Regions from separate parts of the Homo sapiens genome. Here region 2 is linked to region 1. The links are contacts of gene promoters, found by promoter capture Hi-C in human tissues and cell types (Jung and others, 2019). All regions are on one chromosome and are shown on one strand. The core of a region is centred on a gene start or on the middle of the fragment in contact, and the rest is flanking DNA. Distances in the headings are between cores, read along the strand shown.

Evidence for each region. The method cuts DNA at HindIII sites, captures the fragments that hold promoters and counts their contacts. A contact is called where the count stands out against the background at its distance.
Region 2: a fragment that was not itself captured here is called in contact with the fragment with the promoter of FAM177A1 in region 1 in 1 of the 25 tissues and cell types used here (lymphoblastoid cells).

The regions. Positions count from the first base shown.
Region 1 is chr14:35,039,887-35,047,521 of GRCh38, forward strand. It overlaps FAM177A1 (family with sequence similarity 177 member A1), which reads left to right and starts at 6,386. Exons shown (of 5, transcript NM_173607.5): 1 at 6,386-6,742. The coding sequence starts at 6,578. RefSeq lists enhancers at 5,906-6,105, 6,826-7,095, 7,196-7,255 and a silencer at 6,226-6,575. The HindIII fragment of the contact is 5,057 bases long and covers 1,878-6,934 here.
Region 2 is chr14:35,692,023-35,699,657 of GRCh38, forward strand. All of the region lies in intron 17 of RALGAPA1 (Ral GTPase activating protein catalytic subunit alpha 1), which reads right to left. Among named protein-coding and RNA genes, the nearest start is that of SNORA101B, 67 kb to the right of the region's middle. The HindIII fragment of the contact is 3,012 bases long and covers 2,520-5,531 here.

The DNA.
Region 1 (7,635 bases), core at 5,136-7,635:
GGAGACTTTTCATTTTGTTCTGCACTAAGAAAAATTCCTCTGCCTTGGGATCCTGTTGATCTGTGACCTTACCCCCAACCCTGTGCTCTCTGAAACATGTGCTGTGTCCACTCAGGGTTAAATGGATTAAGGGCGGTGCAAGATGTGCTTTGTTAAACAGATGCTTGAAGGCAGCATGCTCGTTAAGAGTCATCACCAATCCCTAATCTCAAGTAATCAGGGACACAAACACTGCGGAAGGCCGCAGGGTCCTCTGCCTAGGAAAACCAGAGACCTTTGTTCACTTGTTTATCTGCTGACCTTCCCTCCACTATTGTCCCATGACCCTGCCAAATCCCCCTCTGTGAGAAACACCCAAGAATTATCAATTAAAAAATAAATTTAAAAAAAAAATACAAAAAAAAAAAAAAAAAAAAAGACTTACGAATAGTTATTGATAAATGAATAGCTATTGGTAAAGCCAAGTAAATGATCATATTCAAAACCAGAAGGCCATCATCACAGCTCAAGTCTACATGATTTGATCTCTTTATCATTGTCATTCTTTGGATTCACTAGATTAGTCATCATCCTCAAAATTCTGCCCCAAGTTCTAATTACGTTCCAAACATTTAGGGGTTACATGAAGCTTGAACCTACTACCTTCTTTGCTTTTGAGCCATGAGTTGTAGGAATGATGAGTTTACACCTTACATGCTGGGGATTAATTTAAACTTTACCTCTAAGTCAGTTGGGTAGCCTTTGGCTTATTTTTGTAGCTAATTTTGTAGTTAATGGATGCACTGTGAATCTTGCTATGATAGTTTTCCTCCACACTTTGCCACTAGGGGTAGGTAGGTACTCAGTTTTCAGTAATTGCTTACCTAAGACCCTAAGCCCTATTTCTCTTGTACTGGCCTTTATCTGTAATATGGGCATATTTAATACAATATAATTTTTGGAGTTTTTTTGTTTGTTTGTTTGTTTGTTTTTTTGAGACGGAGTCTTGCTCTGTCGCCCAGGCTGGAGTGCAGTGGTGCCATCTCGGCTCACTGCAAGCTCCACCTCCCGAGTTCACGCCATTTTCCTGCCTCAGCCTCCCGAGTAGCTGGGACTACAGGCGCCCGCCACCATGCCCGGCTAATTTTTTGTATTTTTGGTAGAGACGGGGTTTCACCGTGTTAGCCAGAATGGTCTCGATCTCCTGACTTCGTGATCCACCCGCCTCGGCCTCCCAAAGTTCTGGGATTACAGGTGTGAGCCACCGCACCTGGCCAATTTTTGGAGTCTTTTAAAGTAAAAATATGTCTTGTAAGCTGGTAACTATGGTACATTTCCTTTTATTAATGTGGTGCTGACGGTCATATAGGTTCTTTTGAGTTTGGCATGCATATGCTACTTTTTGCAGTCCTTTCATTACATTTTTCTCTCTTCATTTGAAGAGCATGTTATATCTTTTAGCTTCACTTGGCTTAAAAGGTTCTCTCATTAGCCTAACACAGTGCATTGTTGGTACCACTTGGATCATAAGTGGAAAAACAGTCAAGAAATTGCACAGTAATACTTGTTTGTAAGAGGGATGATTCAGGTGAATCTGACACTAAGAAACTCCCCTACCTGAGGTCTGAGATTCCTCTGACATTGCTGTATATAGGCTTTTCCTTTGCAGCCTGTGACTGCGGACTATTTTTCTTAAGCAAGATATGCTAAAGTTTTGTGAGCCTTTTTCCAGAGAGAGGTCTCATATCTGCATCAAGTGAGAACATATAATGTCTGCATGTTTCCATATTTCAGGAATGTTTGCTTGTGTTTTATGCTTTTATATAGACAGGGAAACTTGTTCCTCAGTGACCCAAAAGAGGTGGGAATTGTTATTGGATATCATCATTGGCCCACGCTTTCTGACCTTGGGAAATCAATTAAGGGGTTCATAATCTCAATTCTGTCAGAATTGGTACAAGAAATAGCTGCATGTTTCTTGACATTCCACTTGGTAGGAAATAAGAATGTGAAACTCTTCAGTTGGTGTGTGTCCCTTGTTTTTTTGCAATTTCCTTCTTACTGTGTTAAAAAAAAGTATGATCTTGCTCTGAGAGGTGAGGCATTCTTAATCATGATCTTTAAAGATCAATAATATAATCCTTTCAAGGATTATGTCTTTATTATAATAAAGATAATTTGTCTTTAACAGAATCAATAATATAATCCCTTAAAGGATTATATCTTTGCTGGGCGCAGTGGCTCACACCTGTAATCCCAGCACTTTGGGTGGCCAAGGTGGAAGGATCACCAGGTCAGGAGTTCGAGACCAGTCTGGCCAACATAGTGAAACCCCATCTCTATTAAAAGTACAAAAAATAAGCTGGGTGTGGTGGTGTGCGCCTGTAATCCCAGCTACTCGGGAAGCTGAGGCAGGAGAATCACGTGAAGCCGGGAGGTGGAGGTTGCATTGAGCCAAGATCGTGCCATTGCACTCCAGCTCAGGTGACAGTGCAAGACTCTGTCTAAAAAAAAAAAGGATTATATCTTTATATTTGTTATAGATTCTTATCAGAAGACACTCAGGGTTCTACAGATTTTAGATGAAGATGCACAGCTCTCCAACATTAAAATTACTGAGTCTAGCATAGTGTGCAAAGAAAGCTAGTTATTTTATGCCTAATACCATACAGAAAATTCTAGGCCGGGCATGGTGGCTCACACCCGTAATTCCAGCACTTTGGAAGGCTGAGGCGGGTGGATCACTTGAGGCCAGGAGTTTGAGACCAGCCTGGCCAACATAGTGAAACCCCTTTCTGGGAAAATACAAAAATTAGCTGGGTGTGGTGATGTGTGCCTGTAGTCCCAGCTTGGGACCCGAGGTGGGAGGATGACTTGAGCCTAGGAGATCGAGGCTGCAGTAAACCAAGAGCACGCCACTGCAATCCAGCCTGGCTGACAGAGTGAGACTGTCTCAAAAAAAAAAAAAAGAAAATTTTGGTGATTGGATATCACTGGTATATTCTCACCACACACACACACACACACACAGACACACACACACACAAAATGACCAAATTTTAATTAACAAAACAAAACCTTACATAACATCAAATCTAAAAATTCACTTGGTATTTTCATCTGCTTCTTACATATAGAGCTTTAAAGCTTACTAAAAGACTTTTAAAAAGAAACATACTTTACTCATTTCCATCCCAATCTTTCCAAACAACATACTCACCTTTGGTGTGGAAATTTCTTGCCTTGCTAACACTTACTGGCCTAGTATTTTTTGACATTTTCATTCTCAGTGGGGCGGAATGGCTAAGTGTGTAGGTGGTGGAATCAGAATGCCTGGGTTTTAATCCCAGCTCTGCTGCTTACCAGCTGCGTCACTGGAGCAAGTTGCTTAACTTCTCTTTGTTTCCTCATCTATAACATGTTGGTAGTTACAGTAATACTTCAGAATTGTTGTGAGGAATAAGAGTTAATACAAAGAAAGCAAAGTACCTGGCATATTGTGCTCCATAAGTGAAACCACTACCATGATTTTAATAACTTATTCAGCCTGGGCAACATGGCAAAACCTCATCTCTACAAAAAATATAAAAATTAGCCAGGTGTGATGGTACACGCCAGCTACTCAGGAGGCTGAGGTGGGAGGATCGTCTGAGTCTGCAGTGAGCCATAATTGTGCCACTGCACTCCAGCCTGGGTGATACAGTAAGGCCCTGTCTCAAAAAAAAAAAAAAAATTTCTTTATGCTTAGACTGAACCTAAAATGCATTTTTATTTTTATCATCTTTTTTTCTTGTGCATTATTTTTGATGAAAATATATTGTCCTGTTTGATGGATAACTTAAAAAATTCTCTATCAAAGTATATATATGTAGCTATGTTAAAACCCTAAGAATGTCTTGTTTATTTGATGAACATTCCTGGTTATCAAATTTTATTCAGATTTATTTTCCCAGCCTTACGCAGAAATGGTTCAATCCAAATTTACCTTTTTAGCTCTATATGTATCATTAAATGATAAATTTAGACCACATTATGTTTTCAAGTAGATAAATTATCATAATACTTGAATTTATTTTTGTCATAGTGCTACGATACAATTTATGTTACAAAGTGAAAGAAGGAAAAATTTGGCACATTGCCTTGGTGCCTACTTTTGGTTGAGCTATAACAGTTTGGAAATAATGACAAAAATATAAATGTCCAAAATAAAACCATTAGAATTTCTATGCTTTTATGTTGCTTTGAGTTGTTGATTTGTTTTGTTTTTGTTTTTTTGAGACGGAGTCTCGCTCTGTCGCCCAGGCTGGAGTGCAGTGGCGCGGTCTCGGCTCACTGCAAGCTCCGCCTCCCGGGTTCACGCCATTCTCCTGCCCCAGCCTCCCGAGTAGCTGGGACTACAGGCGCCCGCCACCACGCCCGGCTAATTTTTTGTATTTTATAGTAGAGACGGGGTTTCACCGTGTTAGCCAGGATGGTCTCGATCTCCTGACCTCGTGATCCACCCGCCTCCGCCTCCCAAAGTGCTGGGATTACAGGCGTGAGCCACCGTGCCCAGCCCGAGTTGTTGATTTGTAATAAACTGCTCTTCAATTGGATATTTGTGTTAAAAATAACTTTTTAGGAAATACTTCCAGTTCACGTTAGAATGTAACTTGTACTTTGAATTTTCAGTAAACTAAGAAATACACATGTAAACTGTGAAAATATATTCTGCTTCGGCAATGAAAATTGTAATTTGAGGCCAGGCGTGGTGGCTCACGCCTGTAATCCCAGCACTTTGGGAGGCTGAGGTGGGTGGATCATCTGAGGTCGGAAGTTCGATACTAGCCTGGCCAACATGGTGAAACCCCGTCTCTACTAACAATACAAAAATTAGCCGGGCGTGGTAGTGCACAACTGTAATCCCAGCTACTTGGCAGGCTGAGGTGGGGGAATCGCTTGAACCCGGGAGGCGGATGTTGCAGTGCGCCAAGATTGCGCCATTGCACTCCAGCGTGGGTGAGACCCCATCTCAAAAAAAAAAAAAAAGAAAAAAAAGAAAAAGAAAATTGTAATTTGATATTTAATTGCCACTTTGGAAAATAAAATCATGCATTTATAAATATCCCACAAAGTTTTAGTAATAAAGATTGTTGATTGCCCTGCTTGCCAGTAAGAAGGAAGAGATTTTGAATACATATAATGCAGAACTGTGTTGTTTATGAATGCCAATTCATGAAGTCTTAACAATTGGTTCTTTATTTTTGTTTTCAATTTATGGCCGAGTTTGGTTTTGCTGTTTTGGACTGTCTCAACTCCCTGCTGATGCCACCATACAGAGTCAGATCAGGTACTAACTTGTTTACTTCAGCAGCAACCTAACTTGATTTTATTACCAGGATAGAGAGCAATATGGATTTCCAACTAGTTTTTAAGGCGTAGATGGTTTTCAAATGATTATTTGTTTTTTAAAGTTTTTGGTTTTGTTTTTAGGTTCCAGTTATACATAGAATAGGAAGTGTACAATAACATTAGGCAGAGGGTAAGGAGAAGAACTTTGGCACAGAAGAGAAAGGAATATTTAATATTTGGGCCTGCTGTTGCTATGATGAAAAACATTTACAAGGTCATACAACTTTAGGGAGCATTTCTGAATTGAGACTAGTATGAAAATGGAATTTAAAGTATCAAATGAAGCCTCCCATAGCCAAAATAATGTATGTTTTGGTTTTGCCCCCTACATATTTGTGAAAACTTTCATGCTAAAACAACAATATACCATTTACCTGCAGAACCTCAGACTTGTTTGATGTTGAAGTCATGCAGTAATTGCATGATTTTTTACTTTCGTTGAACATTGCGAAAGACGGAAAAAATCTGGGACGCCCCCTCTAACATACGCACACGACTTTAAGACACAGATAAAACATTCCTTACATTTGTCAAGATGGAAGCTTACTACTGCCCTTTGCTCTCCTTCAGGTCTTTTCACTTAACACTTTCTACAGTTATACTTAAGTATTTCAGACAAGAGTAAGCAAATATCACGCCTGGGGTTCTTCTTTCGAGGGTATTTTGGCTGGACTGTCACCCACGTTTGGAATGGAAAGTGCAGCACGAGCCGTACATTTTACATTTTTCAGCAACCACATCCCATCACTAGCCTTTGAAGTACAACGACACAGCTGTCTTCATTTTACAAGTGCAAAAACCGAGGTCCTGCGGGGTGACTGCCCCAGACGCCGCTGGTGACGGGCTGCGCCGAGGTCGAGACGCCAGGCTTCAGGTACACGTACCAGAAATGACGTCACAGGCGGTGCCAGGCGGGGATCCACGAGCTCTGGATGCTTGCTTGGCCGGAAGCGACGCCCCGCAAGGACCCGCCCCGCCCCGCCCCGCCCCGCGCGAGCCGGTAGTTGCGCCTCCCAGACTGCAGTTGGCCAGCTCTCGGGGTGCGGAGCCCGGCGGGCTAGGCGAGGCGCGGGCTGGCCCCGCCCCTCAGGCCGGCGAGTCCCCTTCTCAGAGACTTGGCTAGGCGCGGCGCGAGGCGGGCGCTGGGCGGGTGAGTCCCACTTCCCGACAGCCTGGCTCGGCCAGCGACTGGGCGGGGAGACCAAGGATGGAAGTGGGCTTACCGGCCATTACCCTCTTTCTCACCAGCGCCAGCAGCCCTGTGGTGGCGACGACGATGGACCAGGAGCCAGTGGGCGGTGTGGAACGAGGAGAAGCCGTCGCAGCCTCGGGAGCTGCGGCCGCCGCGGCATTCGGGGAATCTGCAGGGCAGGTAGGTGGGGCCGCCGAGGCTGACGTCCGGGGAGCCGAGCCGCCTCCTTGCCTTCTCCGCGGGCCGCTCTTTTAGCCTGCGCGGCCGTCCTCCGAGCAGGCCGCCCCAGCTTTGGAGTTCCTCCTCACTGCACCCCTGTTTCTGCTCACTGAGACCAGCTTGTGGGAAGGAGCGCCCCCCGCCTCACTCACCAACCCCTTGGCTGGCAGCACAGCAGACTCTGGGGCGGCCTCGGGTTCCTGGGGTGATAGTCCAGCTTCTGGTCTACCAGAGGAAGAAGAAAGGCGTGTCCCCCAAAGGCTGTCCTTGCAGTAGCTGGAAGCCAGGTGAGGGCGGCTTCAACCACTTCTCAGTCTCTTCTGGTGCGAGCGCCTGCCTGGGCATCTGCCCTTTGCTTGGCATATGCCAAACGTTTACCAGCTTTAATTCACTGGATCCTTACAGTAACCGCTCGAGGTGGGTGTTAGCCCCATTTCACCGCCGAGGCAACTAAGGCTCCGAGCTGCGCTGTCCAACATAAATAGAATGCAAGCTGCATTGAAAATTGTAATTTAAAATTTTCCAGTAGGCACGTTTTAAAAAAGTGAAACCGATATTAATTTTAATAGCATATCTTATTTAACCTAATTTATCAAAACAATTTCAACCTAAAATTACTATGAAAGTTATTAATGAAGTATTTGCATTCTCTTTTGGAGTCTTTTCTAAGTCTTTTAAATCCTGGGTGCATTTTACACGCATAGCATATCGCAGTTCTGGCTGACCACATTTCAAGTGCGCATTAGCCACATGTGGCTAGTGGTTACTGTATTGGACAGCGCTGGTTTAGAGAGTTAACGTTTCTTGCAACTTTTCAGTATTAGACAAAAAGACACTTTGGGAGGCCAAGGCGG
Region 2 (7,635 bases), core at 2,776-5,275, 650 kb after region 1:
AACTAACTCATATCTGTGCATCTTGACAAACATAAATATTTCGGTTTTTTACATCTGCCATAAGAGATCATAAGAACTTCTGCCTCAATGACAGAGATTATATTCAGCATGCACTCTAAATTTCTTTCCACACAATATTCTAAAGAACTCAGCAAAGGATAAAGACTGTATAGCTGTTCTATAAGAATTCTTACGAATTTTATAGCTTGGAATTTATTTTACCAAAGGTCAAAATCAAGATTTCAAAACATTAAAATCATAAAAACATTATGACACTAGCAAATGTACAAATGTCAGAAAAAAATAAAATATTAGTTTTAATTTTTAATTTCTTTTATAGATATTTCACAATTTTTCCATTCTAAAGAAGCCAGGAAAGATTATTATGATGTTCTGTGTTTAGGAATTCCTTCCCAAACTCAGCCCTCACTCCTTGTATATTAGAAAACGTAACCATTATTTCAGCCTATGTTTTTTTTTTTTCCTAAAACTTGTTACCATATATGACTATCTAAAACTTCTGTGCAAGCTTAAGAGGGAAAGAGCTTTAAAAAAAAAAAATGTAACTGGTTTTTTTCTACCAATATTGTAGTACCGGAGAATTTAAATTTAAACAATGTTTTTAAAAATTCTTAAGATTTAAATATAGTTCTTTCATGGCACATAATAATACTAACTACATAAAATCAAAGAAGAAAATAACACTGACAGGAAACCAACTTTATGCTAAATTCAGATCAAGAGGGCTGAATTATGTCAATACAAATGGCACTTGAATTGAGCATAATTGACTCTAATAAGCCTTACATTAGTTGAGCAAATATATACAGCTGAACTTTACTGAGAAAAAGACTAAATAATAACTAAACTATATATAGTATTTTCCACATGCCAGGTATTGTTGTAAGCATCTGACATATCATTCATTTAATCCTCACAACAACCCCATGAAGTAGGTGCTATGCCTATTTTATAAATGAAGAAACTCTTTAAGTGACTTGTCCAAAATTACACAACTACAAAGTGAGGAGTTGTGGTGTCAAGTAAGGCAGAAATTAATCTTTACTCTTAATCTCTTGAATAATACATCATATATGTTTTGTACTCATGAAATAATTTATTAATTTTTAAATAAAACTTGGTAAAAATTAATTGTATTATTAAAAAACCATAAAGCCAGGCTTTAGTTATATCTCAATATAAACAAAAAAGAATTTTAAAAAAACCACAGAGCAGCATAGTGATTTATCTCTATAAAGATAAGAATGTTAGAAATAAAAATCTAACTAAAACAAATGTTAGTAAATTATACAGAAGGAACCAATAAAAAAACTTTGAATTGCTAAAAATAATGGTGGCATCAGGTTTAAATAAAAATGCCCTCAAAACAATTTAATTATGCTTCTTATATTTTAACTTAAAAAATGAAAGCTTTTAAATAAAATTTTATATATTTTTCTCTTTCTTTTCTTTTTCTTAAGGGAAACCAACTGTGTCCTCTTACTCTCCCAGAGGAAGAGAAGAACGATCACCCATGTTCAGAGAAACTCCTCTACTAACATACCTTAGAAATTATGCTTGAAAGTATAGTCTTTTCAATTAAATGTTAATCTAAAGCATTAGAAACCACTTAATGAGTGAAACAATAAAAACGTTGTTTTCAAGAGATTTACACAAACTGCTTTTGAACATTGAGAAAATGCTTTGGTAAAATAAATTTAAATTTAGAGTTTAAAAACTCTATAAAGTTACAGAAATGTCAAGTTTTATCTCTGGGTTTCCTTAATACTGTTTAGCATTAAAATGGGTCAATTATTTCTAGATTAAAAAACCGGTTTTTTCCCGGAAATATTTTGTTCAAAAAGTTTCCTGTGTTAGTTTGAAAGGAAAGCTGTACATTAAAGTATACTGTCAGCTTATAAAATGTTAAGAAAAAAGTACTCCTTTCCACTAGATTTAAGTCTCTTGAGGATTTTTGTTTTGTTCATTGCAATATCTCTATTGATTGAAAGAGGACCTGTCACATAAGTATGGGCTTAATAAATACTGGTAGAAGAAAAGCTCGCCTTAAAAAAAAAAAGTAGCTGCTTATTGGTAAAAAGCAAGTTAGTTACTCACAAACTCTTCAGTTAAAATACTAACATATCACTAGAAATTTTAATAATTTCTGAAATGAATCATAGAATCAAGGGCCAAAATCCCCTTTACTAAAGTTAAATTATTTTACTGGTCAAGCACGAACGTTAGCTATCAGTAATATTTTTATGGTCCCTAAATTCATAATATCATTTAAACTAGTTTACATAGAAATTGATGCCATTTTGAAACTCAGTTTTTTTCTGCTAATTACCTAAGTTTTTGTCTATTTGGGCAACAACGGCAATGTACTTCAAGGTAAGTAAAAACGATAGAGCATCTATGTTTCAAATATTATTAACAGAGGCTATTAAAATTCTATCTTTTTAAGATTAGATGTTCAATTTGCAGGTAATTCAAAGCAGTTTTTACATTATTGTAATCATATGAAAAGACTTAAAAGCAACAAATCAAGCTCAATAGTTTTCATTTAAACCACTAAAATTTAGCCCAGTCGACTATCTTCTCTTTTATTCTAATATTGTTTTCCTGATTTTAAAATTTTGAACATAAACTACCAATACATTTTTTATGTTAAGAAAAGTATAGTGTTTTGCTTATGATTATGCTATATAATGTCATGTTTAAGTTAGCTTCACATTTTTCTTGAGATGTTCTTTTTAAAAAATTAATGCAGGCCAGGCGCAATGGCTCACACTTATAATTCCAGCACTTTGGGAGGCCCAGGTGGGTGGACCACCTGAGGTCAAGAGTTCGAGATCAGCCTGGCCAACATGGTGAAACCCCATCTCTACCAAAAATTAAAAAAAAATTAGCTAGGCATGGTGGCGGACTTCTGTAGTCCCAGCTACTCGGGAGGCTGAGGCACAAGAATTGCTTGAACCCAGGAAGTGGAGGTTGCAGTGAGCCAAGATTGCACCGCTGCATTCTAGGCTGGGCGACACAGCAAGACTGTGTCTCAAAAAAATTAACGTAAATTATTCCAGGAAAAAAAAATTAATTTGCCAGGAGGCTGAGGTGGGAGGAATGCTGGAGCCCAGGAGTTCCAGGCTGCAGTAAGCTAGGATGGCACCACAGCAATCAAGCCTGGGCAACACAATGAGACCCTATCTCTTAAAAAAAAAAAATCTAATTGGAATTATGCTATAATCAGCAGATTACAAGTGGAAAATATGTAAAATATTAATATCCTATTCTACACTGATGACAGGAAAAAATTCTTGATTGTATAAAGAAGGGCCTACTTCTTTGATGAGATGAAAAATTCTCCTTATTGGGCAGAATTTAGGAAAAGGATAGGCCTGTGAGACATACTATTTTATTTTTCATTGACAGTCACAAAACAGAAGTATAAAGAGCTCAATTCAAATAATAACATATCGTTAATAAAAAGAGATCAGTCCCCAACATTAGCAGTCTACATACTATAGCCTAGATAGACCAGAGTCCAATAGCAACAAAAATGACAAATCAGTTTTGGGAACTGGTTGAAAGAAACTGGGTCTGTAAGCTTAATTTCAGGATGAGAAACTCATAGTACTTGATTAGAAAATACTAAATAAGAAACATTTGTGGAAGTATACACAAAGCTGCCTACCATGTTTATATACTTTTATATTCCTTTTTTCACTAAAGTGTTACTTTTGGCAGTAAAAGTAATTTGCTTAAGAACGATGATTCAGATTTCTGGCTTCTCTCTTATCTGTTTATCAGGAAAATAATGACTGTCAGGCTGGGTTACCAAATGTCTACAATCTAGTGCAGTAATGATAAGTAATTATCAAAGGCCAATGAGAGAGAAGCCAAGGAGTGTACTTGCCCAGACACCAGAATAAATTATATTAGATGTTTGTGCAAGCCAACATATTGTATCAAATTTGATACATATTTTTCAAACTGTTATAGATGAGTCTGATGTTAAGAAACAGTGCATTGACATAGTGCTAATGCCCACAAACTGGTCCCCAGAGCTTAAGAAAAACTCTTTAAGGGCTGGGTGTGGTGGCTCACGCCTGTAATCCCAGCATTTTGGGAGGCCAAGGTGTGGAGGATCACTTGAGCCCAGGAGTTTAAGACCAGCCTGGGCAACTTTATGTTCAGAATTTCCCTGGGCAACAACCCTGTCTCTACAAAAAAATAAAAAAATTAGCCGGATGTGGTGGCACGTGCCTATGATCCCAGCTACATGGGAGGCTGAGGCAGGGAAGTCAAGGCTGCAGTGAGTCATGTTTGCACCACTGCACTCCAGCCTAGGCAACAGAGCAAATTAAAAAAAAAATTTTTTTTTTTAACTCTTCAAGAATACTCAACTATTCAACTAGGTTAGTCTATAGCTGTATATAAAGCTATATCATATAGCATCATACTTACAACAATGCAGGTAGTATGGACAGTTAGAACAAGAACACTGGAGGAGGAAAAATGGGCTGGGAACAAATAAGGTACTTAGAAAACTGATGGTCCTTTCTCATAGATTTTGGTACGTTAAAAAAAAAAAAGGATTTAAAGGACTTCCCTTTACCTCCCCAATTATCCAAAAGTATCAGATAAATATTTTTCTAACAAATTCTACTTCTAACCATAAACTAGAGGTAGATTGTCTATGAGTCGTTTCATTGAGGTTTTTTTTTGGTGAAGTAGTTGAAGAAACCTCATTTCCTGATTTCAGAGATAGACTCAGGAAATATTTTATGAGTTCGTTTAAGCTAATTCACATGAGGGAGAGCTACAAAAGCATGAAAAACCATTTACTTTTTCCCCTTCATACAGTTCACTTTCTTATTAATTCTCTGCACATTAAACTATTCTAAAGTAAAATTTAGTCAAACCTTGGAAGAAACATCAGCAATTAAAAAGTATGATTGGTTGATGATCTAAGATTTTGGTGATTGTTTTTTAATTTAGCACTATTTTTACAACTCTCTATTCTTATAACTCATACATTTTCTCTTATCTCTTCCACTCTCCTTCGCTCTACACCTAACACCTGAGGAATCAAATTCCAAGTCTTTAATTTGCTTCCAAGAATCGCAGAGGCAAAGACCAATCCAATAATTTAGATTTCTACAATGTAAACTGGTAGAAGATTAATCCTGCTTAATTTTCATATTGGTTCTCTCTGGAACCTTAATGGCACAGGATATCAATATGTGTACTTGGAAAGGTGTTCTGTGCTTAAATAAGTCTGAGACATATTCAATTATAAACAGTGTTTTTTTTTGTTTTGTTTTGTTTTGTTTTTTTTTGAGACGGAGTCTTGCTCTGTCGCCCAGGCTGGAGTGCAGTGGGCGATCTCGGCTCACTGCAAGCTCCACCTCCTGGGTTCATGCCATTCTCCTGCCTCAGCCTACTGAGCAGCTGGGACTACAGGCGCCTGCCACCAAGCCTGGCTAGTTTTTTTGTATTTTTAGTAGAGATGGGGTTTCATCGCGTTAGCCAGGATGGTCTCAAACTCCTGACCTCATGATCTGCCTGCCTCAGCCTCCCAAAGTTGCTGGGGGTACAGGTGTGAGCCACTGTGCCTGGCCAACAGTTTTGTTTTTTTTTTTAACAGGTTTTCTAAGGGCCTTTGGTATGTTGATTTGCACTATGAATCTTTAATCTTTTCCTCTACACACCTATTTGCATCTCCTGGAAAGTGTTCTAAATTTACGTATCAGCTTGAAAAATCCTGACTTCATTTGCAATCAGGAAAGGAGGGATTTTGCTATTTTAAAGTGACAGGTTCCTTGCCTCTTTCAAATTCTAAGAGAAAAAAATGATTTTTAATTCAAAATAACTGTAATTATGCTTTTATATTTTAAATGTACACAAGCATAAAAAACTGGCAGTAAAAGCATCTGAAGTTGTCAATAAATTATCACTGGTTTTGGAGGATTATGTGTATTTTTGCATATGCTTTTCCATATAATCCATGTTTTCTAAAATGAACATTATTTTGATAATCAGATATAAAGTTTGTTTTGTTTTAGTGACTGATGTCTCAACACCATCTAAATCTTTAAATTTATCATAGAAGGCATATTACCCCAGATAGGGAAAAGGAATACAACAAATAAAATTGCCATTTAGAAAATTCCTTTCCAACAGTGCTCATAAATGTTTAAATCATAAAATCATTAAAAAGGTAAACTTTCTGAATTATGTATTTACAGCAAAGCAAGAATTCTGAAATAGGAACTTCTCATCCTGGGTATGGCACCACTCTAAAATATTTTGAAAGGAACAACCTTATCTTTGTTTTAGCTATTCAAAAATGTTTTAGCACTTAACATGAATATTTGCCAATATATTAAGTTGCAGATGAGAAATTCTGTAAATCCCTTAAGATGTGGAGAAAAAAATAAATCTTTCTGACAGTTTTTTTAAAACAGTAGAGGAATGGCTAATCCAATCAAACTTTTAAGAATTAGTGGCCAAGAGAATTCAAATTCTGTACTCGATATAAATAAATAAATAAATAGAATAAAATAATAATGGAAGTGTTCAAAGCTCATTTTAATTTTTCTAAACATGTCAAGAATGGTTTGCATTAAATGCTCTAAGTGTGTCTTTTATAAAAGCTAGGAGCAAAAAATGTATCCAAGAGAAGTTTACAACAAACTCAGAGTTTCTTTTAGCTGTATCTAATTCAGTTTTAAGAACAGAAACATTGTTTGCCAACTTAAGTAGATTATAATTTGATGTAAGCAACCAAAATCTGTGCTACTTACATAAGGAGGTACAGTGCTTAAATGGTGCACTAAAGAGACAAAAATATCCTAATTCTTTATTTGTAGCTAAGCATCATACGTAACAAAATTGTGTGCCATTTTCTACCATCTATTAAAATTTATATTATTACATCTACATATTTTTAAATCTTACTAATTTTCTGTACTGGTAGCTTAAAATATTCAGGTTGCCTAATTTCACTGATGTAAAATACGTCCATTCATTCATCAATACTTACTGGATATTAAGGTTTGAATTGAGGCCAATTTTTCTATTATTGTCATCAATTAAAAAATCAACTCCAATTTCTTATAAACCATTTCTAATTAATTATATTATGGTTCCAAAGTTAACAAAACAAGTAGGTTTCTTTGAGCTAGCACAGTATGCACAATCATTTTATTTATGCCAAAAAAATTTTTTTTAAACAAAACTGATCTATGGTGATGAACAGCAAAAAGTTGTATTTGCGTGGAGGGGAGGAGTGTGTGGTGATTGACTCAAAAAGGTCACTGGGAAACTTTTTGAGGTAGTGGAAGTGTCCTATAATTTGTTTGTGGTGATGGTTAATAGGGGTATGTACAATTTTCAAAAATCATTCAGTTGAGTCTATGGATCTATGCATTTTATTACATGTTAATTAAAGCTTAATAGAAGAGCAGACCGTGCCAGTACTGGGGACCAACGACCTGAGGCAGAACTGGAAAGCTAAGCAGGTTTTGAAGCTCCTTGGAAGTTAGGGCTTCACAGAATGGTTTAAAAATGAGTGAATCCTTAGAATTCTATATATGATTATATGTAATATAAATACAAAGATTTATTCCA